Linked DNA regions of Homo sapiens: region 2 is linked to region 1. Evidence: promoter capture Hi-C in 16 types of primary human blood cells and fetal thymus (Javierre and others, 2016). All regions are on one chromosome and are shown on one strand. The core of a region is centred on a gene start or on the middle of the fragment in contact, and the rest is flanking DNA. Distances in the headings are between cores, read along the strand shown.

Region 1 (4,904 bases), core at 1,120-3,619:
ACATTTATGGGTTCCACATCTGTTGGTTCCACCAACCGCAGATCAAAAAAACACATCTGTACTGAATGTGTAGACTTTTTTTCTTGTCATTCCTTAAACAATACTGTATAACAACTATTTACAAAGCATTTACATTGTAGTAGGTATTATAAATAATCTAGAGATGATTTAAAGTATCCAAGAGGATATGCATAGGCTATATGCAAATACTACACCATTTTATATCAGGGACTTGAGCATCCTAGGGTTTTGTTATTCGCAGGAGGTCCTGGAAGGAATCCCCTACAGATAAGGAGGGATGATTGTACATATGATGGAATATTAGTCTTCAAAAGAAAATTTTCACATATGCCACAACATGGATGAACACTAAGACATTATCTAAGGATTTTAAATGAGTAGGGATAAAGATCATAATACTTTAAATGCCCCACTGAAAAACAAATGTCACAGTTCACACCTCATCCACTACATGCCTTCGTAATACTGCTTCTACCTAAAATTCTCTTCTGAGCTCATGGGTGCCTGGAGAAAACCTACCTGCTTTTCTTTTCTTTTTTAAAAATTGTGGTGAAATACATATAAAATTTACCATCTTAACCATTTTTAAGTGCACACCTTAATGGCATTAGGTACTGTCACACTGTTGTGCAACCATTGCTACCATCCATCCATAGAACTTTTTTCATCTTGCAAAACTGAGACTTTCTGTCCCTATGAATTTCACTACGCTAGGAGGCACCTCATATAAGTGGATCATACAATATTTGTCTTTTCCGTTTAAAATCCTGATGCAAAACTCTGGCTTTATCAGATTCTGAAAAGCCTAGATCTTTCTTTGCCATGTTATAGGGGCAGGAAATAGCATTCATTTAATAGATACTTGAACTCCTACTATGTTTCAGACAGCAATGACTCTGTCCTCCTAGATGTCAGAACAGTGGTGAAGACTGACATCCAGGCCCAAGGTCATAAAGTTATGTAGCGTCAGTTTTGAAAAGTGTAGTGAAGGAAAAGTGCTTGGGCAAGGGACCTGGTTCTAACAAGGGAGGCTACCCTACTTGCAGAGGCTGTGAGAAAAGGCTTCCCCAAGGAAAAGGCATTTAACACCTGACTGATGCGTAGGAGTGACTCAGAAAAGAAGTCAGAGACCTAAGCCAGCCAGTAAGACAAAGGGGGACGGTAGAGACAGGTTAGATTGGACATTTTATTGCAGCAGATAACACGTTTTCCAACCCCCAAAAATGTCCAATTTAGACTCCCATACGCAGGAATCAGAGGCTATGAACCAAAGCCGGAGATTTGGTAATAGGCTTCTTCTGTGTTTTCTGGACTTTTTATCTTATTGGAAATTATCTTCTTAAATTCTTACATTCGAAACCCACAAGGTAAAAAGAATATCCTTCCCTCTTTCTAACATGGGGGCCAAAGTTTCTCTCCGAGGTCACAGCTGGTGGAAGGGAAGGCTACTTTTGGAAAGATGGAACCTGGCTTGCCACCTTGTCCTTCCGCCATCCCTATTACTCTCCCTCAATCTCCGGATGACTTTTCTACTTATGATCTTGGAGTATGAGCAAGTCACGCGTCCGTCACTACTTGATGGGATCTTAAAGGCATCAGAAAGGAGAAGCGCCGCCACCACCATCACCTGTTAGTTCAGGATGCAGGTGTGAGGCAGCCTGGGGGCGCGGGCGGCCGGAAGGGGCACAGGAACTGCAGCCCCCACGCACCTGGAGACTCATCCGCGGCATCCGCGTACCCACAGCCCACGACCTCCCGCTCACCCTTCTCCTTGGTCACGATGGAGATGAGCGGCACCCGCGGGCGGTCGCTGAAGACCTCGGCCTGCTGCACCAGCGCCTCGCGCACGCTGTGGAAGTCGCTGAGGACCACCACCAGGTAGTGGCCGATAAAGAAGCTGAAGATGCTGCCGTACACGCGGGCTAGGTGAGCCAGGAGCACCTGCGGGCCTATGACCGAGGGATCAATCCCTGCGGCCCTGGTCCTGCTGCTCAGCCAGCTCCGCCGCCGGAGGAAGGGAGGCAGCAGCACGTGACCGAAGTTGCCCACCAGAGGCCAGGGCGTGGGCCCGGGCGGGATGCCCCGCGCCCGGCGCCTCCGCAGCCAGCTCCAGCCCAGCAGCGCTACGAGGCCGCATAGCAGCAGCGCGCCCCCGCTGGGGTCCAGCCGCAGCAGCCCCAGAGGCGCACGCAGGAGGCGCGCGGGCCAGGGCGGGTCCTCGGCCGGCGGCTGCGACGGCCCCGGAGACGACATGGTCCGGGCGCCGGCGGCCTCGGGTTCCCCTTGCTGCCTGGAGGAGACGCGCACGCAGCTGCCTGACCCGCGGCGCCAGTGTCCTGCTCTGCTCTGGAAGGTCGGGGGCGGGCAGGGGGTGTAGGAACGCCCCCGGATTGGCTGCGCCGCGCGCATTCTCCCCGCCGCCGCCACTCAGCGACGCCTGGGCGGAACCTGGAGGCGCGCCGGCTGCCTGGCGGAGGGGGTTGGCGGGCTAGCAGGCGGGGGACCTGAAGTTTGCCCCGAAGTCCGGTTACGACCCTTTGCAGGGTCGGGCTTGGCGGTGACTGTCCCTGAAACTGGGATGCTGGCAACACAACCTTGCGCTCTGATTGGCTGTTGGTTTCCCTTGTGTCATTCGTTTGTCATTATCACTCGTTTGTCAGTTGACAAACACAAACGCATGGTTATGAAGTGCATAAACCGTGTTAGGATCTGTACTGAGTGTGGGAAACTGGTGAACAGGCCCGTGAGATGGGTCGGCCTTAGCACCTGTGCCCTGAGCTGGGAGAATGGGGTCAACGCCCTATTCCTGCATGCTTCGGTGTAGTAGTGAAAAGACGGGGTTCCTTATCTAAACTGGGATTCGCAGCACCCTTTCCTCCACGCAGAGACAGCAGGATGCTGGGAAGCCGTGGAATGCAGAATCTGTGGGTGTCGGCTTGGCAGCCAACTCTGCGGAAGGGATGATGGCGGGAGTGGGGGGAGCGAGGGGCGGGCAGCGAGGCACGAGGAGTCACGTTCTGAGAGCTTGCCCTGGGCTAGAAAACTTATGCGGAGAGCGAAAGCTGTGTCCATTCCTGCGTGTGGCCTGGGTGCATTAGAAAATGTACTTAAATCCAGAAATAGCGAAACCAGAATTTGCTTGGTGGATTTAAGTAGCTAGAAATATGAAAAGAAGATAACCGGTTGAGGGAGGGGTGGCAATATTATTATTGGTGTTAGACAACACTTGAAAGGCTGAGGTTGAAATATTAGATATGAATTGTATAATACTTTAAAAACAAAGTATTACTTTATTTTATCTTCTCAGATAATGGCTTTCCTGATAAGGGCTTCCCTTTCAGTCTTGTTTAGGCCAAATCCTGTAGTTTCTGTTCAAGTTGGATTGAGCATAGAATTGTCTGTACTGGGCCATTTTTCTAGCCGTTTCATTTTTCTCCATACATTAAAAGTTTGAACACCACGCTGTACCTATAAAAATGTGATCAAAGAAAGCATAGTGAGTCCTCAAATAAATACATGATCCATTTTATTTTTCTATAAACAAGTGATGCCAGTAGGATATGTTAAATTTCAAGTCCACTCTGTTCTCATATTCTTTTTGACATGCTTTTCATGTTATTTTAAGCTTATGCACCCCAAACAAAAAAAAAAAACCTCCACACCTCTCATCTTCTATAATTAACCACTACTTGTGAGATTACTTTTCTCATTTTTTTTGAATTTTTGAATTAAGAGAAGTTTTTAAAAATTTAAACTACTTGTTTGCAGATACGATCTTCAACATGACATTCTGGATGTCATCTGATTCTAGGGCTTTGCTCTCTGAAACAGTAGCCACTATATACATCATCCCATACAAGCAATTTAAATTCATAAATGATTTTAAAATAGTTGAAGCTGTGACTAATTTAACAACTCCAACAGCCACCCTTTTATATTGTACAGGATGTAACTGCACGTGTAGTGTTTTCCTAAATCTCTCATTTTCACTAGGTTAATAGCTGTGCGGGGCAGATAGGAAATCTGGGCTGAATTCAGCCTCTCCTCACCACTATATGTTGAAGTCCTAACCCCCAGTGCCTCAGAATAAGACTGTATTTGGAGAAAGGGCCTTTAAAGAGGTAATTAAGCTAAAATGGAGTCCTGTGGATGGGCTCTTACCAATATGACTGGTGTCTGAAGAGGAGATAAGGACACAGAGAGGAAAGAGGATGTGAGGACACAGTCAGAAGGCAGCCATCTACAAGTCAGGAGAGAGGTCTCAGAAGAAATCAACCCTGCTGACACCTTGAGTTTTGACTTCTAGTCTCCAGAACGGTGAGGATATAAATATAAATTTCTGTTGTTTAAAACATCCAGTCTGTAGTACTTTGTTATGGCTGCCCTAGCAAACGAATACAGGAAGGGATATTGTTCATAATATTATGGATACACTTTTATTTTATTATTATTATTTTTTGCGATGGAATCTCGCTCTTTCGCCCATGCTGGAATGCAGTGGTGTGATCTCGGCTCACTGCAACCTCCGCCTCCCAGGTTCATGCGATTCTCCTGTCTCAGCCTCCCAGTAGCTGGGATTACAGGCCCGCACCACCACGCCCGGCAAATTTTGTATTTGTAGTAGAGACAGGGTTTCACCCTGTTGGCCAGGCTGGTCTAGGACTTCTGACCTCAGGTAATCTGCCTGCTTCAGTCTCCCAAAGTGCTGGGATTACAGACGAGAGCCACCATGCCCAGCTGGATGCACTATTTTAAACATGAAACCACACAGCTCATTCAGTGCTCCTTAAGGATGAATTTCCCCAAATTACATTCAGGGCGATTTTGCCACATAAAGGAATACTTTCTGCTTCATCTCTCTTATTTTATATAGGTAAAAAAAT
Region 2 (4,904 bases), core at 1,366-3,865, 740 kb before region 1:
TGGGCTTTCCCAAAGGGTACACGCTCATCTAAGTAGTATCCAAATGAAAAAACAACATTACCAGCAACCCCCTTTACATCCCTTTCTGGTCACTACCCCCACCTCTCAAAGTAACCATTATCCATAGGAAAGATTGACTTTTAATAATGAATTAGAACATAGGATAAGTGTATGATGACCCAGTTGAAAGTACAAGGGTTTTAGAGCTAGACACACTTCAGTTCAATCCCAGCTGGGCCCTATTACAAGGAGACAATAATATCTACCAGAATGGATCGTTGTCAGCGCTGGAAGTCATATGTATAAAGCACCCAGCATGGTACCTTCCCTTGTTGACTTAGTCAGCTCTTTCTGGTTATGATATTAAAAGATCCGGGAGGTGGGTGGGGTCCTTGTTAGAGTAAAATGAGATGATAGATGTGAGGCCACTTTTGAAAGTTGAAATATGTTATTATACAAGTGTAAAGTGTATGTGAAGATATCAGTACAGCAGTTGCCATGGGGGGTTAAACTTGTTACCTATTTTCCTATCATCTCAGTTAAAATAGTGCAGACAGTGCTGGGGACTCTGATTTATAGCTGTTCCTACCTATTAACCTGGTTAGACCTTGAGTGCTCTGTGTGCTCACACTCCACTGTCAAGAGAAAACTTTTTTTCTGAGATGGAGCAGTTGACAACATAAGCACTTAATGACATATGCAAAGGTTCATCCACCACAGGAGGCATCTGAAGAAATGGACTTTATGAAGAGGAGGTGCCATCCATTACCCAAAGGCAGCTCCTTGGCCTTCAGTCGAGCGGTGGCATCATGCTGCTTTGAAACTATTTCCCCCCTGCAACAGATACAACATAAATCATAAAAACACTGTTTTCAATGAACATAGAAATAAAAGCAGACATTCCATGATCCAACTATATTTATCATACCTGCCAATGTATGCACATTTATACCACTTCCATCTCCAGAGGAGAATGTACAATCATGCATTGAAAAAAGTATGGGGTGTGAGTGGGAAAATAACTACAGATAAGTGGAGCACCTCATATGTTCCAGAGGCTGTGCATTATCTCATTTAATTATCAGAACATCCCTATGGGGTAGGTATTGTTATCTTCATTTTACCAAGAGGAAAGTGAGGCTTGGAGAATATTTAACTTGCTAAAGGTGAAACAGCTGGTAACTGGCAAAGGTGGCATACGAATCCAAATCTAATTGGTTAACATAGCTTAGGAGACGTATTTAGCCACCAAAACGGCTATATTGGTCTAATATGCTTTCTAAGAGCAGTACATATTCTTTTGGGGACTTTATTTTCAAATTAACATAGAGAACCTAGACTGCAGTTAGACAAGAGTGATCATAAAGGAACCAGACCTCATGTTTCTGAGCCTGAGAAACTATAAATAGCTAACCTGAGAAAAATGGAGGCACATGACAGGCTTTTAATATTTGAAACGCTGGCTATCATTATGGTGTGCAGCTAAGTATGTTCTGTATAGGCACAAGGATGGAACCAAAACCAATTAACTAAAACAAAAAAAAAGCTTTCCAAAAGAAAAGTGATCTGAAGATGGAATGGATTACCTTGAGAGGTAAGGAAGTTCCCATCACTGATAATGTCAACAGTAGTTAGAACACACCTCATTTTGGCTAATGAAATTATAATTTGAATTTTCTTGTATATTTTATAACAAATTACCTAAACTAAATTCCATAAACTTGATAACAAGTGGACTTCGGGTAATCTTGTAAAGAGGTAGCTAGACCACTGGGTGCAGCAGGACTGAGGGATGGGCAAAGAGGAAGGAAGAAGTAGAAGTTTATAGTCAAGGGTGTGGCCTATTAAAAACTTGACTTTTTAGGCTGGGTACATGGCTCATGCCTGTAATCCCAGCAGTTTGGGAGGCCGAGGCAGGCGGATCACGAGATCAGGAGATTGAGACCATCCTGGCTAACATGGTGAAACCCCGTCTCTACTGGAAAAAAAAAAAAACAAAATTAGCTGGGCGTGGTGGTGTGTGCCTGTAGTCCCAGCTACTCAGGAGGCTGAGGCAGGAGAATGGCGTGAACCCGGGAGGTGGAGCTTGCAGTGAGCCGAGATTGCGCCACTGCACTCCAGCCTAGGCGACAGAGCCAGACTCCGTCTCAAAAACAAACCAAAAAACAAAAAAATTTAAAAAAAACTTGACTTTTTAAAAACAGCTTAAAGATATAATTGACATTTTTTAAAAACTACACATATTTGGGCCAGGCCGGGTGACCCACGACCTGTAATCCCAGCACTTTGGGAGGTTGAGGTGGGAGGATCACTTGAGGCTTGGAGGCCCAGTCCAGCCTGGGCAACACAGGGAGACCTCATCTCTACTAAAAAATGCAAAAAATCAGCCAGGTGTAGTGGTGCGCACCTACAGTCCCAGCTACTTGGGAGGCTGAGGTGGGAGGATCACTTGAGCCCAGAAGATGGAGGCTGCAGTGAGAGCCGTGAACACACCACCGCACCCCAGCTTGGGTGACAGAGTGAGACCTTGTCTCAAAAAAATAATAAACTACATGTATTTAAGATGTGCAATCTGATAAGTTTGACCTCTGTCCTGGAAACCATGCCACAATTAAGATAATGAACATATAATGTGGAATCTAGAAAAGTTGAACAGTAAAATCGTGGTTACTAGAGGCTAGAGAGTAGGAGAATTGGGGAGATGTTGGTCAAGGAGCACAAAATTTCAGTTAGGTGGGAGGAATTAGTTCAAGAGATCTATTGAACATCGTGGTGAATATAGTTAATAACAATATATTGTATACTTGAAAATTACTGAGAGAGTAGATTTTAAGTATTTTCACCAAAACAAAAGGTAAATATGTGAGGTAATTCACACATTAATTAGCTTGCATAGCCATTCCACAATGTGTGTGTGTGTGTGTGTGTGTGTATATATATATATATATATATGCACATCATGTTGTACACTGTAAATGTATACAATATACAATTTTTGCCAATTAATTAAATTTAAAAATATAAACTTAAAATACCGTCAAACATGTTGTATAGATTAATCTTGAATATGACTGACTTATTTTCTTCAAGTCAGACATTTTAAAAGGCCAGAATTATGAAACATTAAATAGAAAAATATTACCCTCACTTCCTTGCTAGGTATGTCCTTGGTGATGTAGGGCTGGACTCACAAAAGAGCACTTCCAACACTACTGTTAATAAAGTCAGGAAAAGATGCCATGTGGCATCCTATTTTTAAAATCTATATTCACTAATGAGTATATATGCGAAGTTATAGCTGGTCTTCACTTGAAATGGTACTTCATAGGCACGTTCCTCAACTTTACTTAGATAACTAAATTTATAGAGTACTATACTTTCTGAATAGAGCCCAGAGTTTTGCTCTTTGATAAGCTGTGTCAAGACAAGACCGTTTTTTATCTCCCCAGAATTCCCTTGGCTATTTTCAAGTCCCACAGACTGGTAGACTATGTGAATTAAAAAGAATTTTTGTCATCTAGAAAGCCAGCTGAGGGGAACTGATCAGCCCAGTAATGTTTTCAGTGCCTCCTCACAGATAGAACCCAACCTCTCTCGGTTAAAAGGCAGCTGGGCCTGTGTCCATTCAGGAGAGGATCCTAGTACTATACTTGTAACCTTTAGTCAAGTTAATGAAAAGCTTGGCATATGGGGGGATAATCTTTGGCGTATGTTTATAATATCCCCTGTATTTTAAAATTTTAAATAATTTTATTAAGATATATCTTGGAGTCCATCGTTTTCGGTCAGTTTTTCCGGTTACTACATGATCTTTCAAAATAGTTTCAAATCTCTTATTTCAGGAAAAATAATTTGTAAGTATAATTTAAGTATTATAATCCTTCCTTCCTTCCTTCCTTCTTTCCCTCCCTCCCTCCCTTCCCTCCCCTCCTTCCCTCCCTCCCTCCCTTTCCTTCCTTCCTTCCTTCCTTCCTTCCTTCCTTCCTTCCTTCCTTCCTTCTTCTATCTTTTTCTTTGCATTTTTAGCTACTGGAAGGGGCTGGGGCCCTGGTGATGCCCTGAGGCATCCTGTTCAATTGATCTTAATGAGCAGCTTCCCATTCTCTTCATCCATGGGTTTCTGATGGTATCCATTTTTTACATCCAATTTTTAATACTATTGATTTCCTTCATAAACTACCAAGGTAGCCTACATTTTTTTTAAAAAAAAAAAAGTAAAATAAAATGAAAATATCCATCACCCAAAAAAGTTTCCTTATGACCTTTTGTCACTCCTCCCTCTCATACCTCCCACTCTTCTCCCCAGACCTCACCCCCACAACCATATACAACTAGATAGAAGTCATTCGTCAGATATATATTTTGCAAGTATCTTCCAACAGCCTGAGGCTTGCCTTTTAATTTTCTTAACAGTATCTTTTGAAAAGAAAAAGTTTTTAATTTTAATCCAGTCTAGTTGATTGATGTTCTTTTCATTTATAGCTTATGCTTTTGTGTATCATATTTAAAAATCTTTGCCAAGCCCAAGGTCACTACATTTTTCATCCATGTTTTCTTCTAGAAGTATTATGATTCAGGCTCTTATATTAAAGTCTGTGATCCATGTCATTCATGAAGTTTTGTAAATGGTGAGGTAAGCGTTGAAGTTTTTTTTTTTTTTTTTTTTTTTTTTGCATATGGTTATCCAATTGCCCCAGCACCATTTGTTAAAAAGGCTATTCTTGCCGGGAGCGGTGACTCACACCTGTAATCCCAGCAATTTGGGAGGCCAAGGTGGGCAGGTCACCTGAGGTCAGGAGTTCGAAAACAGCCTGGCCAACATGGCAAAACCCCATCTCTACTAAAAATTAGCTGGGCATGGTAGCAGGCACCTGTAATCCCAGCTACTCAGGAGGCTGAGGCAG

Evidence for each region. Contacts are between HindIII fragments. The CHiCAGO score rates a contact against its expected background, and 5 or more counts as called.
Region 2: a contact is called between a fragment that was not itself captured here and the fragment with the promoter of CYP2U1 in region 1, in 1 of 17 cell types (activated CD4 T cells). The highest score is 7.8, in activated CD4 T cells.

The regions. Positions count from the first base shown.
Region 1 is chr4:107,929,014-107,933,917 of GRCh38, reverse strand. It overlaps CYP2U1 (cytochrome P450 family 2 subfamily U member 1), which reads right to left and starts at 2,369. Exons shown (of 5, transcript NM_183075.3): 1 at 1,785-2,369. The coding sequence starts at 2,274. It overlaps CYP2U1-AS1 (CYP2U1 and SGMS2 antisense RNA 1), which reads left to right and starts at 1,799. Exons shown (of 7, transcript NR_125929.1): 1 at 1,799-1,947. All of the region lies in intron 1 of LOC107986298 (a long non-coding RNA gene), which reads left to right. LOC124900751 (a long non-coding RNA gene) reads left to right here and starts at 2,333. Exons shown (of 2, transcript XR_007058221.1): 1 at 2,333-2,945; 2 at 4,015-4,904. RefSeq lists enhancers at 1,632-1,701, 1,762-1,831, 2,492-2,999 and a silencer at 2,042-2,631. The HindIII fragment of the contact is 6,450 bases long and covers 1-3,648 here.
Region 2 is chr4:108,673,726-108,678,629 of GRCh38, reverse strand. No RefSeq gene overlaps it. Among named protein-coding and RNA genes, the nearest start is that of OSTC, 26 kb to the right of the region's middle. The HindIII fragment of the contact is 2,133 bases long and covers 1,549-3,681 here.